Regions from separate parts of the Homo sapiens genome. Here regions 2, 3 and 4 are each linked to region 1. The links are contacts of gene promoters, found by promoter capture Hi-C in human tissues and cell types (Jung and others, 2019). All regions are on one chromosome and are shown on one strand. Each heading gives the region's core, a stretch centred on a gene start or on the middle of the fragment in contact. The rest is flanking DNA. Distances are from core to core; before and after follow the strand shown. Region 1 holds the start of SYCE2 (synaptonemal complex central element protein 2). Region 2 has its middle 18 kb from the start of IER2. Region 3 holds the start of LYL1 (LYL1 basic helix-loop-helix family member). Region 4 overlaps NFIX (nuclear factor I X).

Region 1 (4,172 bases), core at 673-3,172:
TTCTTTTTTTTGAGACGGAGTCTCACTCTGTCACCAGGCTGGCATGCAGTGGCATGATCTCGGCTCACTACAACCTCTGCCTCTGGGGTTCAAGCGATTCTCCTGCCTTAGCCTCCCGAGTAGCTGGGACTACAGGCGTGCACCACAACACCCAGCTAACTTCTGTATTTTTAGTAGAGACGGGGTTTCATCATGTTAGCCAGGATGGTCTCCATCTCTTGACCTTTTGATCCACCCCCCTCGGCCTCCCAAAGTGCTAGGATTACAGGCATAAGCCACCATTCCTGGCTTTTTTTTTTTTTTTTTGAGACAGCGTTTCGGTCTTTTTGCCCAGGCTGGAGTGCAATGGCGCCATCTCAGCTCACTGCAACCTCCACCTCCTGGGTTCAAGCGATTCTCCTGCCTCAGCCTCCTGAGTAGCTGGGATTACAGGCATGTGCCACTATGCCCAGCTAATTTTGTATTTTTAGTAGAGACGGGGTTTCTCCATGTTTGTCAGGCTGGTCTCAAACTCCCGACCTTAGGTGATCCACCCGCCTTGGCCTCCCAAAGTGTTGGGATTACAGGTGTGAACCACTGCACCTGGCCAATATTTTTTAATAAATTGGCCCGACATTCTGGCCCGCCTCTAGTCCCAGCCATTTCGGAGGCTGAGGTGGGAGGATCACTTGAGTCTGGGAGGTGGAGGTTGCAGTGAGCCGTGATCATGCCACTGCGTGGTGACAAAGCAAGACGCTGTGTTAGGAGGGAAAAAAAAAGCAGCAGACACTGGCATAGCCTTGTGGAAGAAAAGGGTGAATGAGAGGGACCCAGGGGCCTGTGTAGACCCATAGGGCTGGGATCTTCCTCACCTAGCTGGCCCTCCACCAGCTTCCTCCTCGCAGTTCTCTTCCCACCGCGGATGCTCCTTGCTCTCCCCCAAGGGCTGCGGTTCCTGGTCTTTGCATTTCACATGGGGCACGTCCACCTGCAAGCACAGTCAGGACGGAGGCCAAGGAGGGAGGATGAGGAGTGAACAGATCGCCCTCCTGCCGACCCTTCAACCCTGGTCACCTCGATGTGCTGCTGCGGGACGGTGGGGACCCGCAGGAAAGACGGGCAGGGCTGGGGCAGGTGCCATGAGGGCAGGGGCATGGGGTGAAAGGACACTCTGTCCCTAGGGGACACCAGGACACCAGACCTAGAGGGGCCGGGTGAGGGCAGGGCTGTGGGAATGTAACTGGAGGACCTGGGCTCCTAACTGGTATGTGTGTTGGCTGGAGTCCTTCGAGAAAGGAGAAGAGGTAGGAGAAAAGAGATGAGGCCGGGCGCGGTGGCTCACGCCTGTAATCCCAGCACTTTGGGAGGCGGAGGCGGGCGGATCACGAGGTCAGGAGTGCGAGAACAGCCTGAGCAATATGGTGAAACCCCGTCTCTACTAAAAATACAAAAATTAGCTGACGTGGTGGTGCGTGCCTGTAATCCCAGCTACTCGGGAGGCTGAGGAAGGAGAATCACTTGAACCCGGGAGGCAGAGGTTGCAGTGAGCCGAGATCACGCCACTGCACTCCAGACTGGGCGACAGAGTGATACTTCGTCTCAAAAAAAAAAAAAAAAAGAAATGAAAGAAACGGGTGCGGTGCGTGGGTGTTTGTGCCTTTCTCTACTCCGTTCCGGCCACGCGCCATGTGTGGAAATCAGACCCGTCAGTGCGTCAGTCAGGGCCGGGTTCAGTCAGTCAGGAAATTTGAGGCCAGGCCTGATGAGAGGGAGCCCCAATGGCAAAGGACAAGCGGCCGGGCTCGGGTCCGCTGGAGATGGCTGGGATCGCAGCCGTTCCCTGCCTATCTGTCCGCCCGCCCCACGCGCGAGAAGGAAACAAGCGCCGCGTACTCCCTGTCGCTCCATTCCGTATTTTCCCGCCTTCAAGCTCGCACCCTCTGCGCATGCGCCGACCCCGCCCCTGGCCAGCTGCGCTCCCGCGGACGAGTGTGTTGTGACGCGTGCTCCCGGCCCCGCCCTCTTTGAGAACTTGCGCGGCCAACTGGGCGGGGCCGACCGTTAAGCAGCAGTTTCGCGGTCCGCGGGCTGCGCGCGCAGTCGGCGCCCCTTGGGAGCAGGACGGCGCGCTCTGGGTGCGCTTGTGTGCCCCTGTGAGGCTCCTGGGTTCCACGGGGCGCCCAGGTTATACGGATCTCAGAGTCCTGTATTTATTCGGTGCTTCTAACTTCATCCACTCTGCCTTGGAAAATATACTCCATAACAATTTTTTTTTTTTTTTGAGACAAGATCTTGGTCTGTCGCCCAGGCTGGAGTGCAGTGGTGCGATCACAGCTCACTGTAGCCTCGACCTCCCAGGTTCAAGCGATCCTCCTGCCTCGGCCTCCTGAGTAGCAGTGTCATTCACCAGGCCCTTCTAATTTAAAAATATTTTTCTGGCCGGGCGCGGTGGCTCACGCCTGTAATCCCAGCACTTTGGGAGGCCGAGGCGGGTGGATCACCTGAGGTCATGAGTTCGAGACCAGCCTAGCCAACATGGTGAAACTGTCTCTACTAAAAATACAAAAAATAGCCGGGCGTGGTGGCGGGCGCCTATAGTCCCAGCTACTCGGGAGGCTGGGGCAGGAGAATTGCTTAAACCCAGGACGCAGAGGTTGCAGTGAGCTGAGATCATGCCACTGCACTCCAGCCGGGGTGACAGAGTAAAGCTCCGTCTCAAAAAAAAAAAAAAGATTGTATGTATATATACACACACACACACACACACACACACACATAATTATATTTTTTTTTCCTGTAGAAATGAGATCTCACTGTGCTGAGCCCAGGCTGATCCCCAACTCCTGGGCTCAAGCCGTCCTCCCGTCTTGGTCTCCCAAAGTGCTGTCTCAAAAAAAGAAGAAATTATCTGATCTACCCTATTGACTGTAGGTCATAAGACCCCCGTTTCAAAGAAGTTTCTGCCCCACACAAGGCCTATCTATCTAGATTCTTCTTGGCCTCTCTGAGCATGCATTCCTGAGACTCCAAGAAGAATCTAGACAGATAGGCCTTGCTGGGTTTCCCCACTCAGCCTATTAGTATTAGACGACCCCCCCGGCTTTTTTTTTTTTTTTTTTTTTTTGTCTTGCTCTGTTGTCCAGGCAACACTGGAGTGCAGTGGCAAGATCTCAACTCGCTGCAACCTTGGCCTCCCAGGTTCAAGCGATTCTCAGCCAACCAAGTAGCTGGGATTACAGATGCACCATGCCCAGCTAATTTTTGTATTTTTAGTAGAGATGGGGTTTTTCCATGTTGCTCAGGCTGGTCTCAAACTCCTGGCCTCAAGTGATCCACCCGCCTCAGCCTCCCAAAGTGTCAGGATTACAAGTATGAACCACGACAAACCCTTTTTGTCCAATCAAATTTCTACCTGGGTGTTCAAACTTTGCTGAACCTAAGCATAAGACACTTTTCATTAATCAGGCATGGTGGCGGGCACCTGTAATCCCAGCTGCTTGGGAAGCTGAGGCTGCTGTGAGCCAAGATCGCCCCTACACTCCAGCCCAGGGAACAGAGCCAGACTCCGTCTCAAAACAAAACAAAACAAAAACACAGTTTCCCCTGTATCTCTGGATCTTCATTCTGAAGGCTTGTCAGGTAACACTATGATCAAATACATTCGTATTCCTTTTCTCTTATTAATCTGCCTTTTCTCAGTAATTTTTAGTGAAACTTCAGAGGGCAATAAGGAAGCTTTCTCTTCACCCCTACACAGCCAAAGTTCAGATTTGATGGAAATGGCAAGATTCCAGGGTACTTGTGTTTATTTAGACACATAAATATGTATTTAACGACAGGGTCTCACTCTGTTGCCCAGGCTGGAGTGCAGTGGTGTAATCACGGCTCATTGCAGCCTCGACCTCCCAGGCTCAAGTGATCAACCTCAGTCTCTGGAGTACCTGGGATTACAGGCATGAGCCACTATGCTGAGCTAATTTTTGTTTTCTGTTTTTGGGGGACAGGTCTCACTCTGTGGCCCAGACTGGAGTGCAGTGGTGTGATCTCAGCTCCCTACAACCTCCACCTCCTGGGTTCAAGTGATTCTCCCACCTCAGCCTCCCAGATAGCTGGGACTACAGGTGCCTGCCATCATGCCTGCTAATTTTTGTTTTTTGTTTTTTTTTTTGGAACAGAGTCTTCTTCTGTCACCC
Region 2 (4,172 bases), core at 791-3,290, 250 kb after region 1:
GATTACAGGCATGCACCGCCACGCCCAGCTAATTTTTGTATTTTTAGCAGAGATGGGGATTCACCATGTTGGCCAGGCTGGTCTTGGAACTCCTGACCTCAGGTGATCTGCCTGCCTCAGCCTCCCAAAGTGCTGAGATTACAGGTGTGAGCCACTGTGCCCCACCAGGTAGGCACTTTCATTAGCCCCATTTTACAGATGAGGGAACTGAGGGGAACTGAGGCACAGAGTGGTTAAACAAAGTGTCCAGGGTTACCCTGTCCAGTAAAGCAAAGCCCATTGACATTCTTCCTCTCCTGGATTTTTTTTTTTTTTTGAGATGGAGTCTTGCTCTGTCGCCCAGGTGGGAGTGCAATGGCCCAATCTTGGCTCACTGAAAGCTCTGCCTCCCAGGTTCAAGCAATTCTCCTGCCTCAGCTTCCTGAGTAGCTGGGATTACAGGCGTGCACCACCGTGCCCAGCTAATTTTTGTATTTTTTTTTTTTTTAAGTAGAGACGGGGTTTCACCATGTTGGTCAGGCTGGTCTCGAACTCCTGACCTCGTGATCTGCCCGCCTCGGCCTCCCAAAGTGCTGGGATTACAGGTGTGAGCCACCACGCCCGGCCGGATTTTTCTTCTTTTCTTTTCTTTTCGGTGGGGAGGAGGAGAGTGTGAGGACCTTTGTCCTGGTTGGTGAACTTTTGCTTAAACCCAGCTTCTATCTCTGGTTCTCAGATAAGGAACCAGCTCCTTCTGGGAGCTGAGAGCCGCACCCCAGGTCTCCTTGCCACTCCTGGGCTACCTGTTTTCTCTTTCCTCATATCCAGGGCTGATCACTCACCAGGTTCCCTCTTAGAATCATTTGCCACTTCACTTCATTTTCCTCTCTTCTCCCCTTTCTGCAGGATGAACACTTCCCCAGGGGTCAATCTGTGCACGCTCAGTCCAGGGGCTGGGTAAAGACAAAGTTTTTTGTTTGCTGTTGTTCACTTGTTTATTTAAATTTATTTATTTTGAGATGGAGTCTCGTTCTGTCACCCAGGCTGGAGTGCAAGGCGCGATCTCGGCTCACTGCAACCTCCGCCTCCCGGGTTCAAGCAATTCTCTGCCTCAGCCTCCTGAGGAGCTGGGATTACAGGTGTGCACCACCATGCCCGGCTAATTTTTGTATTTTTAGTAGAGATGTGGTTTCACCATCTTGGCCAGGCTGATCTTGAACTTCTGACTTCGTGATCCACCTGTCTCAGCCTCCCAAAGTGCTGGGATTACAGGCGTGAGCCACTGCGCCCCACCCTCACTTGTTTATTTACTTGTTTTGTAAACATTATTTACTGAGCATGATCAAACTGCTAGACTGGAGAGGCTGCTGCAATCTCCTCCCTCTGCCCCCGCCATTTCCTGGTACCCATCCTTGCTGGTGGTGTCTGCAATCAGCGGGGCCCTGGCTGAGTTCACGGGAAAGGAAATGGCTCATTGCTTCAGCCTTTAGACCGGGGGGCAGGGAGGGCCTGTCGGGAGGCCGCCTAGTCAGGGGCGTGTCAGAGGCCAGAGGGGCCGGGGCCCAGCAGCTGGGGCTTGGTAAGCTCTGGAGCCTGGGCTCCAGGCCAGCTCGCTGCCAACCTCCACCTGAGACCACCCCACCCCCAACCCCCTTCCTTCTCTCCCCTGCTGCCGAGGCGCGCCCTTCCGGAGTGAAACTTTGGTTTCTCACGACCCGGAAGGCTTGAAGCAAACCTGCAATTACTCACTGCCTGGTCTGTGCGGGCTGCAGCTCTCAGACTCAGGATGAGGTGGCGGTAGGTGGGGTGGGGCTCTTGGGACCCTTTTACCCCTTCGTGCTGCTGGCTGGGGGAGGCCACTAAAGTCTGCGCGCTGCCTTCCACGCGTTCTCCAGACACTTTCCAAATCCCTGCGGACACTACCTTATAAACAGATACTGGAATTTTCAAAGTACTGTCATGCTGTTTGGGACCAGAAATTCCCTCCCATGAGGGTTGGATATGAAGCCAGTTTGGAGGGGGAAGCTGAGGGTGCATGCCCCTGGATCTACCAAAGCCTTCTCTTCAGTCTGGGAGGTTTTTTTTCTTTTTCTTTTTCTTTTTTGAGACAGAGTCTCACTCTGTCGCCCAGGCTGGAGTGCAGTGGTGTGATCTCAGCTCACTACAACCTCCACCTCCCAGGTTCGAATGATTCTCCTGCCTCAGCCTCCCGAGTAGCTGGACGACAGGCGTGCGCCACCACACCTGGCTACTTTTTGTATTTTTAGTAGAGACAGGGTTTCACCATGGGTTTCAGAGGGTGCAGTGGCTCACGCCTGTAATCTCAACACTTTGGGAGGTCGAGGCAGGTGGATCACTTGAGGTCAGGAGTTCGAGACCAGCCTGGACAACATGGTGAAACCCTGACTCTACTAGAAATACAAAAATTAGCTGGTGGTGGTGGCATGCACCTGTAGCCCCAGCTACTCAGGAGGCTGACTCAGGATAATCAGGAACCCGGGAGGAGGAGGTTTCATTGCTCCAGACTTTGAGACTCCATCTGAAAAAAAAAAAAAAATTAAGCCAGGCAAAGTGGCTGATGCCTGTAATTCCAAAGCTTTGAGTGGCTGAGGTGGGATGATCACTTGAGGCTAGGAGTTCGAGACCAACCTATGCAACATGGCAAGACCACCACACCCCCATCTCTGCAAAAAATTAGCCAGGTGTGGTGGCGCACACCTGTAGTCCCAGCTACTCTAGAGGCTGAGGCGGGAGGGTGGCTTGAGCCCAGGAGTTTGAGGCTGCAGTGAGCTATGATCATGTCACTGCACTCCAGCCTGGGTAACAAAGCAAGGCCCAGTCTCAAGAAAATCAGTTATTTTTGCATATGTATGGCGTACATAAGAACATTTGTTACATGTCTATAATGTAACCTCTCTCTGCTTTGCTTTGCAGCTCTGGCAGGGGCAGGGCAGCAGTGCTATGATGAGGCCACTTGTAATTGGGGGTGTTCATGGGAGGGCCTTTGTTCTCTGAGCACTGAGTGGGCACTGCTGTATCTCCATATGCCTGGGATCCTCATTGGTTCCCCTCCTTTCTCCCAGGCTTGTGCCTCTTTCTTTTACTTGACTTTTTTTTTTTTTCCACCCAGGCTGCCGTATAGTGGTGCCATCTCAGTTCACTGCAACCTCCACCTCCCAGGTTCAAGCAATTCTCCTGCCTCAGCCTCCCCAGTACCTGGGACTACAGGCATGTGCCACCATGCCTGGCCGATTTTTGTATTTTTAGTAGAGACAGGGTTTCACCATGTTGGCCAGGCTGATCTCAAACTCCTGGCCTCAAGTTATCCATTAGCCTCAGCCTCTGAAAATGCTGGGATTACAGGCGTGAGCCCGGCCTTTCTTCTTTTTCTTTTTTCTTTTGTTTGTTTTTTTAGAGACAGGGTCTCACTCTGTCACCCAGGTTGCAATGTAGTGGCATGATCATAGCTCACTGCAGCCCTGAACTCCTGTGCTCAAGTGATCTTCCCACCTCAGCCTCCCAAGTAGCTGGGACTATAGGTGTACATCACCATGCCTGGCTAATTTTTTAATTTTTTTTGCAGATATGGGGTCTTGCTATGTTGCTGAGGCTGGTCTCCAATTCCTGATTTCAAGTGAGCCTCCTGCCTCTGCCTCCCAAAGTACTGTGATGAGCTACTACGCCTGGTCATTGTCCCTCTTTCTCATGACTCTCTGGACATCCCTGGGGTGGAGGGTGGGGCAGGCACACACATCCCTCAACTTCCCAGTGGTTCCACGATGACTAAGCCAGCCCTGTCCCTGAGGCTGGGAGTCTGGAGCTAGGATCCACCCCCATGGCCTCATATCCCAACCTTGAGCCTGGGTTTCTGGTCAGACTGGACGGGCTAGCTCGGTCTCCTTAACTCTCAGAGTTGCCTTGTCCAGGCCCAGCGGGTCCCACACAGCCAGGCACACCCCACCCCACAGGGCTCCTGGGAAATTCTCTGCCCCACCCTCAGGCTGCCTCAGACAGACTGAGGTTACCTGTGATTGTCCCAGATAACCCGAGTGAGCCCATCCTCTGCTCTGGGTGGCTCCCTCCCTGGCAGCTGACCTGTAAATTTTGAAAAGATGGGGACAATGCTCAGCTAGGAGGGATGCTCCTGCTGTCTTCCCTGCTGGCCTGGCCACTCCCCAGACTGGACAGGTCCC
Region 3 (4,172 bases), core at 183-2,682, 180 kb after region 1:
TGTCCCTGAGCTCTTTGTGACCCAGGAGGGGCGCTGTTGCCCAGCCTCTGAGCAAATATTCCTTCTTCCAGAATTCCCTCACCTCTGCAGCCTGGAGAGGGAACAAGACAGGGAGCCCCTAACTGATCCTGGGATCCCCAGAAACCCCAAGATTAACCCTGTTATCCTCAGATCTAAAGATCCAACCCAGAGACTCCTCATTAACTCATTGATGCCATGTGAGCTTGGAATCCCTCCAAGATGGACTCTGACCCTTCACGGAAGGCCCCCAGCCCCCACCCAGGCTGACCCTCTGCACCTCAAGAATGACCCTGCGGTTCTTCCCATTGCTGTCCCTGAAAGTGCTCCATAATTGCTTGAGTGACCCCCACTCCCACTGCAAACATCCCCCATAGCAACCCTGTGACCCCACTACTGACACTATGACCTCAAATGCTGACCCTAGACCCCCAAACACTGACCCCACTGCCCAGTCCAGTCCAGTCATGCCCCAACCCTCCCTCTGGCTTGGAAGCCCCCATCCTCATCAGCATCCACGCTTTTTAAAATTTGTTTATTTTTTTAGAGACAGGGTCTCCCTCTGTTGTCCAGGCTGGAGTGCAGTGGTGCAATCATAGTGCACTGCAGCCTCAAATTCCTGGGCTCGAGCCATCCTCCTGTCTCAGCCTCCTGAGTAGCTGAGAGTACAGGCATGTGCCACCATGCCCGGCTAATTTAAAAAAAAAAATTTTTTTTGTAGAGGCAGGTTCTCACTCTGTTGTCCAGGGTGGTCTGGAACTCCTGGGCTCAAGTGATCCTCCTGCCTCAGCCTCCCAAAGTGCTGGGATTACAGGCATGCACCACAATGCCCCGCGATCATCCACAGTTTTGCATACTGTTTTGACATCCCTGTTTGCTCTTGGTTCCAGAGTCCAGGATGTCCCAGCAAGGTGTGAGACTGTTGGCCCCTCTGCCCTGTCTTCCTCAGCTAGGCCCTGGGGAAGCAGGCCTGGCCCCTCACTAGTGGGTCCCTGCTGGTGAATGAATGAATGAAGGAATGAACAAAGGAATGCAGGCTGGGTCCCAGGCCCGGGATCCTCCACCTTTAGGCCCGCTCCCCTCTTACCCCAGCACTGTTCTTGCAGCCTGGTGAGTGCCCTGGCTCTGTCCCGTCAGGGCTGGCAGTCTGGGCCAGGGTGTGGTTTCCAGCGTCAGGCCAGGCTCTGCTGTCTCGCGAGGGTCCGGCCTCAATGCTCCAGGCCCCGGCGTTGGGCCGCGCCTCCTCGTGGGCCTCGGAAGGCCAGGATAGCCGAGGTCTCCGCGTAGGTCCCCCCCAGGGAAAGTGAGCGGCTCCCGGGCCGGCCCGCCTTCTCCCCGCCCCCGGCGGCCCGGTTTCCTCCCTCTCACCCCTGGCGGCGCAGCGGCCGGAGGATGCTGGCCCAGTGCAGATAAGGGCCAGGCTGCCTGGCCGCGCCTGATAAGGAGCCTGGCTGACCCCGGAGGAAACCAGCGGGCGGGGACCTAGCAGCGCGGGCCTCCCGGCCCCGCCCCCAGCCGGCGCTGGCAGGACTCGGTCCGCCACCCCTCAGGGCTTCGCCTTCCGCTCCCCCAGCCACTGTAGGGACCCCGGGCCTCTGGGGACCCGGGCCCCAGGGCAGCCGGGGAGGGAGGTGCCTGGATGCACGCAGGGGGTAAACTGAGGCAGGGAAGCTGCCTCCTCTTATGTCCGAGTCTGCCCTTTGGCTTTGCACACTCCCTGCCCGAATGTCTGTGCTGATGGGGGTGAGGGAGAGCCCTTTCCGGCCCGTTGGGGCCGCGTGACCCTGGGCCCCCACCTCCTCTCCTCACCCAGCCTGGTTCCTCTTTTTACAGAGGCCCTTCCCTCCTCTCCACCACCCCTACCCGGGAGTGGGGCACCCAAAGGGGAACAGTTCTAACAGTCTGGCCTTGGGTGTCCAGCCTGGGCAGGTGTCCCAAGCCCTCAGCACAGTATCCACACATTTCCAAGCCCAGGAGGGTGAGAGGAAGAGCCATGGCTGTCAGGGGTGGGGTGGGGAAGTTGGATTTCCTAGGGTGCTGGGGCTGGTGTGACCTTCCAGTAGATGCCCAACAGGTCCCCACAACTATAGGCCTCTTGGCTACAGGATCACATAACTCCAACTTGGTGGTCCATGGCCCTCACCCCACAGCACCCGGCCCCTTCATGGGGGGCAGTTATCCTGGCTTGGTGGTAAACCTCAAGACCCTACTGGAGCCTCCCACAGGGAGAGGCTCTGGGCACAGCCAGGCAGCAGCAGCTACCAGACTGCCACCCACTTGTGATACTCATGCTTTGGCCCGTCTGTGTATCTGGGCAACTGCAAGAGCCCCCAGGCAGGCAGGCACCCAGCAGCAGGACTACCAACCCCCCCCCCCCCCCGCCCAGGAATGGGGTGGAGCCCAGGACCCCACGATCAACACCTCCATTGCTTTCCTCCAAAGAAGCAGGAACTAAAGTTTTATGCAGTAAAGGCCGGGCTTGGTGGCTCATGCCTGTCATCCCAGCACTTTGGGAGGCTGAGGCTGGCGGATTGCTTGGGCTCATGAGTTTGAGACCAGCCTGGGAAACATGGCAAAACCCCATCTCTACAAAAAATACAAAAATTAGCTGGTTGTGGTGGTGCGTGCCTGTAGTCCCTGCTACTCTGGAGGCTGAGGTGGGAGGATGGCGTGAGCCTGGGAGGTGGAGGCTGCAGTGAGCCAATATTGCGCCACTGCACTCCAGCCTGGGCCACACACCTAGACCTTGCCTCAAAAAAAAAAAAAAAAAAAAAAAAATTAAGCGCTAACTCTGATATCGCTACAAGGAGGGTCCTAAGATTAGCCTCATTACAGATGGGGATGAAGGGAGCAGGAGCCAGAGAGGGGATCCTGCCCCAGGACTCTTCGTTAACGTTACTAAACCCCACTCTGGAGGGCAGGGAGGGGTACAGCTCCCCCTCACTGGGTGTCTGGGCAGCAGCCTGCGAGGTCCCTCTTTGTGTGCACGCCCCCCTCGCCCCGGGCCTCAGGGCAGGAAGCACCTGGTCTGGAGCGGATGCACAGGGCGCCTGGTTCCGGTCCAGCTTCCGCCACTGTGGCCCCTGGAGAGCTGGGCCAAAGAAACCAGGCGGCGAGGAGGCAGCGGCGCGAAGACACGTGGGGGCTACCGGGCAGGAGCGCCCCACTATGCGCAAGCCCGTGGCCTGGAGAGCGCTGAAGGTGGGAGGGGGAAGAGGGGCAGAACCCCCGCGGGAGCGAGCGCACAGCTGCCGCCCCGTGGCCGCTTCGGGAATCGCTGGCTCCGGCTCTGGGGTGGCTCAGTGACCCTCGCTGCAGAGGGGCCGACCACTGTGCAGATGGTCAGCTCCTACCTCCCATACAGACTCAACACTCCAGCCAGGCAGGGGCGAACGATCCCCAGAGGAACAGATCCCAGTCATGCAGCTGTATGGACCAATACACAAACCACAGGCAATCGGGAGAAGGTGACGTGACATCTCTTTATTGGTTCAGTCTATGCCTGGCCCAGCGGCAGCCCCAGGTCCAGGGGGGGTCTGGTTGGAGGTCTCTGGACAGTCAGGGGCAGCATCAGCAGAAACCCTGGGTGTCGGGGGGCTGTGGGAGTAGCAGCACTGGTCCCCGCGTTGACAGGTGCCCTGGTGGGAAGATGGTGGGTGTGAACCCCTGCCCGGAGCTCAGCAGCCCCTGATGGGATCCTTTCCTGGGATGGGAAGCCCACTCCCAAACACTTGCCTGGCCCCAGCTCCCCCAATTCTCTCCCTGTTGCCCAAAGGGGAGACTCATGTGTCCTGCAGTGGAGGAAAGGGAGGAGGGACCTCACCTCCTTAAACCTCTTGCAAGGAAATGTCTTGAGCCGGGCAGCCCGCTGGGCCACATCTTCCGGCGGCTCCTTCCGCTTGTTCTGAAGCAGCCTGCGTCTCTCCTCCATAGCTTCGTCGGCCGCCTTGCCCCTGTGCGAGGGGAGGAGTAGGTGGGACCCCATCTGCCCTTTACCCCTTCTTTCCCTGGCTGAGCCCCACCCCCACCTTACCACCACTCACCCTGGCCGGGCACGAGGCCGGGGACCCCAGTTGGCCTCCGGGTTAGCCTGGAAGCGCTTGAGTCCTCGCTGTCGGGAGCTGGGGTTGGCATCTTCCCGGATGGTGAAGTTG
Region 4 (4,172 bases), core at 644-3,143, 150 kb after region 1:
CTCTGTCCCTTTATGAATAATTAGACCAAGGGCAAGTGTATTTGGGGGTAGGAGGAGGGTGATGCCCAGCCCTGGGAGGTTGGGACACTATTAATAGCCCTAAGAGCAGCTGGGGGTGAGGGTGATTGTCTGGCCAGCCTGTCCTGTCCTGGGCAGCTCAAAGGGCCAGAAAGGGCAGTGCTGGAAATAGAGAAAGCGGGTGGGGGTGGAAGAGCAGCTCTGCAGGCCCCTTGCTGGGATGGGACCCCCCCCCTCCCCAGGGCCCCTCTCTTTTCTTGACATGTGGGGTATGGAGGGCATTCTCCACTGTCAGTTTTTCTTCGTCAAGTTGGGGAGGGGATAGAAGCTTCAGGGGCTGGGGGCCGCTTGCCTGGACCCCACCATCACATGACTCTTGGCCCCAGGCCCTCTCAGAAATGCTGGCTCCAGCTGCCGGCTGAATCGTGGCACCAGCCAGCACTGCCAGGAGAGGCGCCTGGCCTGGACGCCCATGGGCCTGTGCCTGTGCTCCTGGTTTTCTCAGCTCTCTGTATTCCAAGGCTGGGCTGGGCTGGGCAGGCCTTGGGCCTAGCACTCCCAGAGTCTAGGGGGACAAGCTCTATCCTCCCTTTTCCCTGTTGGCCCTCTCTCCCCCACCCCTGTTTCTAGTATGGTGACTGTCTTGAGACCGTTGGATGGCTATTGCACACCGATGTGGGGAGGGATATGCCTGTACAGGTGTCTGCCCAGGCTCTGCCATTATATTTGCAGAGAAACCTCTCTGTTGCTCTTTGTAGATGGTAGTGGGCCAGGCCCCAAGGGAGCCCCTCTGTTCACTGGCAGTGGTCCCTGGGTCAAGACACCAAAAACTGCAATCTAGGACACACTCACCATGTACTCAAGAGCGTGAGCTCCTGGGGAGGGGAGCTGAGGGTCAGCCACAGCTTCCCCCACCAGGGTGGGAGGTGGCATTTGAACAGAGTTGAGAAGGAGGAATAAGCATTCAGCAAATGGAGATGAAGGGAAATAGTAATCCAGGTGGAAGGACAGGCGACATTTATGTAGCCCCAACTATGAGCCAGGCCCTGAGCTAAGCACCTTATTATACATGTTTTCTCATTTATTCCTTACCCAGGAATGCTAATGGTAGGTGTTATCTCCCTTTTACAGATGAGGAAACAGTTCATAACTTGACCAAAGTCACAGGCTGGTAGGTTCTGGAGCACGGATGTGAATTGGGGGAGCCTTGGTATGCCGTTGCTGGCCACCCACCTCCTTCCTCCTCCTACCCTCCATTTCAGCATGCCCCCTTCGGCCCCTCTGTGCTGGGGCAAGGCCAGCTCACCCAGGATAGGGTATCCACAGTGGTAGAGCACTGTGTTGTACCCCCTCAGTGGACACAGGCTCCAGACCAAGGGCACCTCCCTGGGTAGGCCAAGGGCAGGCTCAGAGGACAGGGGAAGCAGACCCAGGCCAATGGCTCCTGCCCAAGATGTTTTTCTTTGCCTTCTTCCTTGCCTGATCTTTGCCTGTCATCTTCAATCTCTTCTGCTCTGATGGGAATTCCTACCCCAGGTATCTCTGAAACACCCCAGACAGTGCTGCTGCCATGCCCTGGGTCCACTTGTTCCCTCCATAGTCAGGTATCTGAGGTGCTAGGTTTGGTGCTGGGTCACCTTGCCATGGGCAGACACAGGAGGAGCCTGCAGGCCCACTCGCATGTCCCATTGCTGCTGTGGCTGGGGGTCTCATTTATTAACTGTTGGGCTGATCCTGGAGTGGCCATTGGCAGGTGGGCCTTTGTCCACCTGCTGGGTGCTCTGTTGTGCACCAGGGGCATATCCCTTCTCTCTCTCCTTTGCTGGCCACTGCCTGTCATCCCTTGGGGAAGAGCAACTGAGCATTCAGTTCCCCAGTGCCTCCTGGCTTCTTCTGCCGCTCCATGCCTGGGCCCATCTAAAGGAGTTCTCCCTGGGCTGGGGACGGCTGCTAATGAACGGGAGCCAAGCAGAGAACGCTGAGTAGCTCACACCAGAAGAACTCCCTGGAGGGCTCCGGGGCCACTTGCTGGGGATGGAAGGGAGGTGGGAGTTCTATTGTTTTCCTGGAGGAAAATTTTAAGCTTAGGAACACCTTTCTCATTATATGAGGGAGGCAGTGATGGGCTGTGTGGCTGGAAGGCTTCTGGCTATGAGTCTATCTCCACATGGGGAGTGGAGGCAACCAAGGACTGTAGGAGACAGGCCTTCTTCACCTCGACACCGTGTGGGGCCTGAGGCTTTCAGATGAAGTGTGAGACTGCTCTGCTGGTCTCCTGGGTACAAGATGAGCTGATGGACTTGCTTTCTCCTCGCTTCCCGAAGCCTTACTGCCGAGCTGTGAGTCCTGTAGTAGCCAGGCCTGGCACTTGCTCCAGGGGCACCCGTAGAGGCCGGGATGTGTTGGAATGGAGAAAGTAGTTCTTCCTGGGGTCAGGGGATGGAGAGGGGAATGTCCCATCCAGATGCTGGCCCTTCATCTGCCAGGTTCCTGTGCCTTCCCTACCCCCCCGCCCCCAACAATGGCTTTTCTTGAGCCTAGGCCCTAGGGGCAGCCAGAGCAGGCCTAGACCACATGTGGGTGTCACTCGGTTTCTTCCTCTTTCCTGTCACTTATCCCCTCTGCCATGTCCTCTTCCCCCATCTCCAGCAGGTCAGTCAAGTCAAAGGCAGAAGCCCCTTTGGATCTGTGAGCAGGGAGGGAATGAGGAAAGGGGAGAGGACGATAATGGGGTGACATGTTCCCCTGTCCTTATCCCTGCCCCCACCCACAGCTTGCGGGCTCTGCTTCTTGTTCAGGCTCCGGCTTTAAACCATGTGAGACTCTAGGGATGACAGAGGAGGGAAAAACCTGCCACCTCAGGATGACTCCAGGATGTGTGTGTGCATGTGTGTGTGTGTTTGTGCACATGTGTGTGTGCACATGCATGGTGGCTGGTGGAGCAGGGTGAGGAATGGAGAGAAGGAGAGGAAGATCCTAGAAGCCCCGTGGGCCCAGACCCTGGCCAAGCCTCATCCCCCGGCCCTCTGGCTGCCCTGCATTCTCAAGGACTTCCTTGGTCCCCTGAGTCTCCTGTCTGCTGAGACGGGGAGAACCCCTCTGTGACCCGTCCCCTTAGCCCCCCATCTATCCACCGTTCCCCTCCTCAGGGTGTCTCAGATTCTCAGACTTCAGTTTCAGGAGGCACAATAGTTACATTCTCCAGCTCTGATTGCTACAGGCAGGGCCTCTGGCTCCCCTTGAGATTGGGTTTCCTGTGCCCTGGACGCTCCAGAATCTCAGAGGAAGCGGGAGAGAAGTAGGAGGCGGGTGCAGTGCTGGGAGGGCCAGTGATTGGCCCCAGAATCGCATCAGCCCTTCAGAGGATGGGGTGTTGCAGCTGCCCAGAGGCACCCCCAGAACAGAATGTACCCCCACTTGCTTCTGGAATGTCAGGCCTGGGAGGGCCAGGGGATGGGCAGGCACACCCCAAGGGCTGTTCTCCCCGTTTCCAAAGGCCAGCGGTTCCTGCAGAGTTGAAGGGGATTCCTCTCTGGTGGCTCCAGATGTACCATCTCACTCCACCCTTTCTGGACGGCAAGAAGTGGTTAGTGGCACCTCCGTGTGTGTGCGCGCGTGTGTGTGTGTGTGTGTGCGTGTGTGTGTGTGTGTGTGTGTATGTGTGTGTCTGAGTCTGAGCATATGAGTGTATGCATCCAAGTGTATGCACATACCTGGGTATGCATATGTGGGTTCAGCTAAGGCCAAATCTGTGCACACCCCTCAGCCTCCATAAAACTTGTTAGGCCAAAGTCCGTGGGGGCAATTGGCCAGCAAATTATACATGGCCCCTTTCACAGTACAAGTTTGTTTCGAGCAGGAGCTGAGGGCAGTGTTGGCTGTAGCCAGCAGGAATTCCTCCCTCACCCTAGTGGGAGCCATAACTACCTCCCCATCTGTAGGTGGAAAATATATATATATATATTAAAAACATGCATCCGGGCACGGTGGCTCACGCCTGTAATCCCAGCACTTTGGGAGGCTGAGACGGGCGGATCACCAGGTCAGGAGATCGAGACCATCCTGGCTAACACTGTGAAACCCTGTCTCTTCTAAAAATACAAAAAATTAGCTGGTCCTGGTGACAGGTGCCTGTAGTTCCCAGTACTCGGGAG

The links. Contacts are between HindIII fragments. The study calls those that stand out against the background at their distance.
Region 2: a fragment that was not itself captured here is called in contact with the fragment with the promoter of SYCE2 in region 1 in 1 of the 25 tissues and cell types used here (pancreas).
Region 3: the fragment with the promoter of LYL1 here is called in contact with the fragment with the promoter of SYCE2 in region 1 in 1 of the 25 tissues and cell types used here (spleen).
Region 4: a fragment that was not itself captured here is called in contact with the fragment with the promoter of SYCE2 in region 1 in 2 of the 25 tissues and cell types used here (IMR-90 fibroblasts and lymphoblastoid cells).

Annotation. Positions count from the first base shown.
Region 1 is chr19:12,917,371-12,921,542 of GRCh38, forward strand. It overlaps SYCE2 (synaptonemal complex central element protein 2), which reads right to left and starts at 1,923. Exons shown (of 6, transcript NM_001105578.2): 1 at 1,873-1,923; 2 at 852-967. The coding sequence starts at 1,887. MIR5695 (microRNA 5695) reads left to right here and starts at 2,950; the gene lies at 2,950-3,034. RefSeq lists an enhancer at 1,603-1,742. The HindIII fragment of the contact is 14,742 bases long and covers 1-4,172 here.
Region 2 is chr19:13,166,155-13,170,326 of GRCh38, forward strand. No RefSeq gene overlaps it. Among named protein-coding and RNA genes, the nearest start is that of IER2, 18 kb to the left of the region's middle. RefSeq lists enhancers at 1,148-1,775, 3,468-3,968, 3,969-4,172. The HindIII fragment of the contact is 8,994 bases long and covers 1-4,172 here.
Region 3 is chr19:13,101,426-13,105,597 of GRCh38, forward strand. LYL1 (LYL1 basic helix-loop-helix family member) reads right to left here and starts at 1,433. Exons shown (of 4, transcript NM_005583.5): 1 at 1,106-1,433. TRMT1 (tRNA methyltransferase 1) reads right to left here. Exons shown (of 17, transcript NM_001136035.4): 15 at 4,062-4,172; 16 at 3,842-3,971; 17 at 3,482-3,656. The coding sequence ends at 3,510. LOC105372282 (a long non-coding RNA gene) reads left to right here and starts at 2,991. Exons shown (of 2, transcript XR_001753871.2): 1 at 2,991-3,219; 2 at 3,383-3,481. RefSeq lists cis regulatory regions at 1,186-2,106, 2,906-3,486, a silencer at 1,206-1,815 and enhancers at 2,896-2,975, 2,910-3,204, 3,116-3,175. The HindIII fragment of the contact is 28,419 bases long and covers 1-4,172 here.
Region 4 is chr19:13,063,831-13,068,002 of GRCh38, forward strand. The region is part of intron 2 of NFIX (nuclear factor I X); the gene reads left to right. Among named protein-coding and RNA genes, the nearest start is that of LYL1, 37 kb to the right of the region's middle. The HindIII fragment of the contact is 5,516 bases long and covers 1-4,172 here.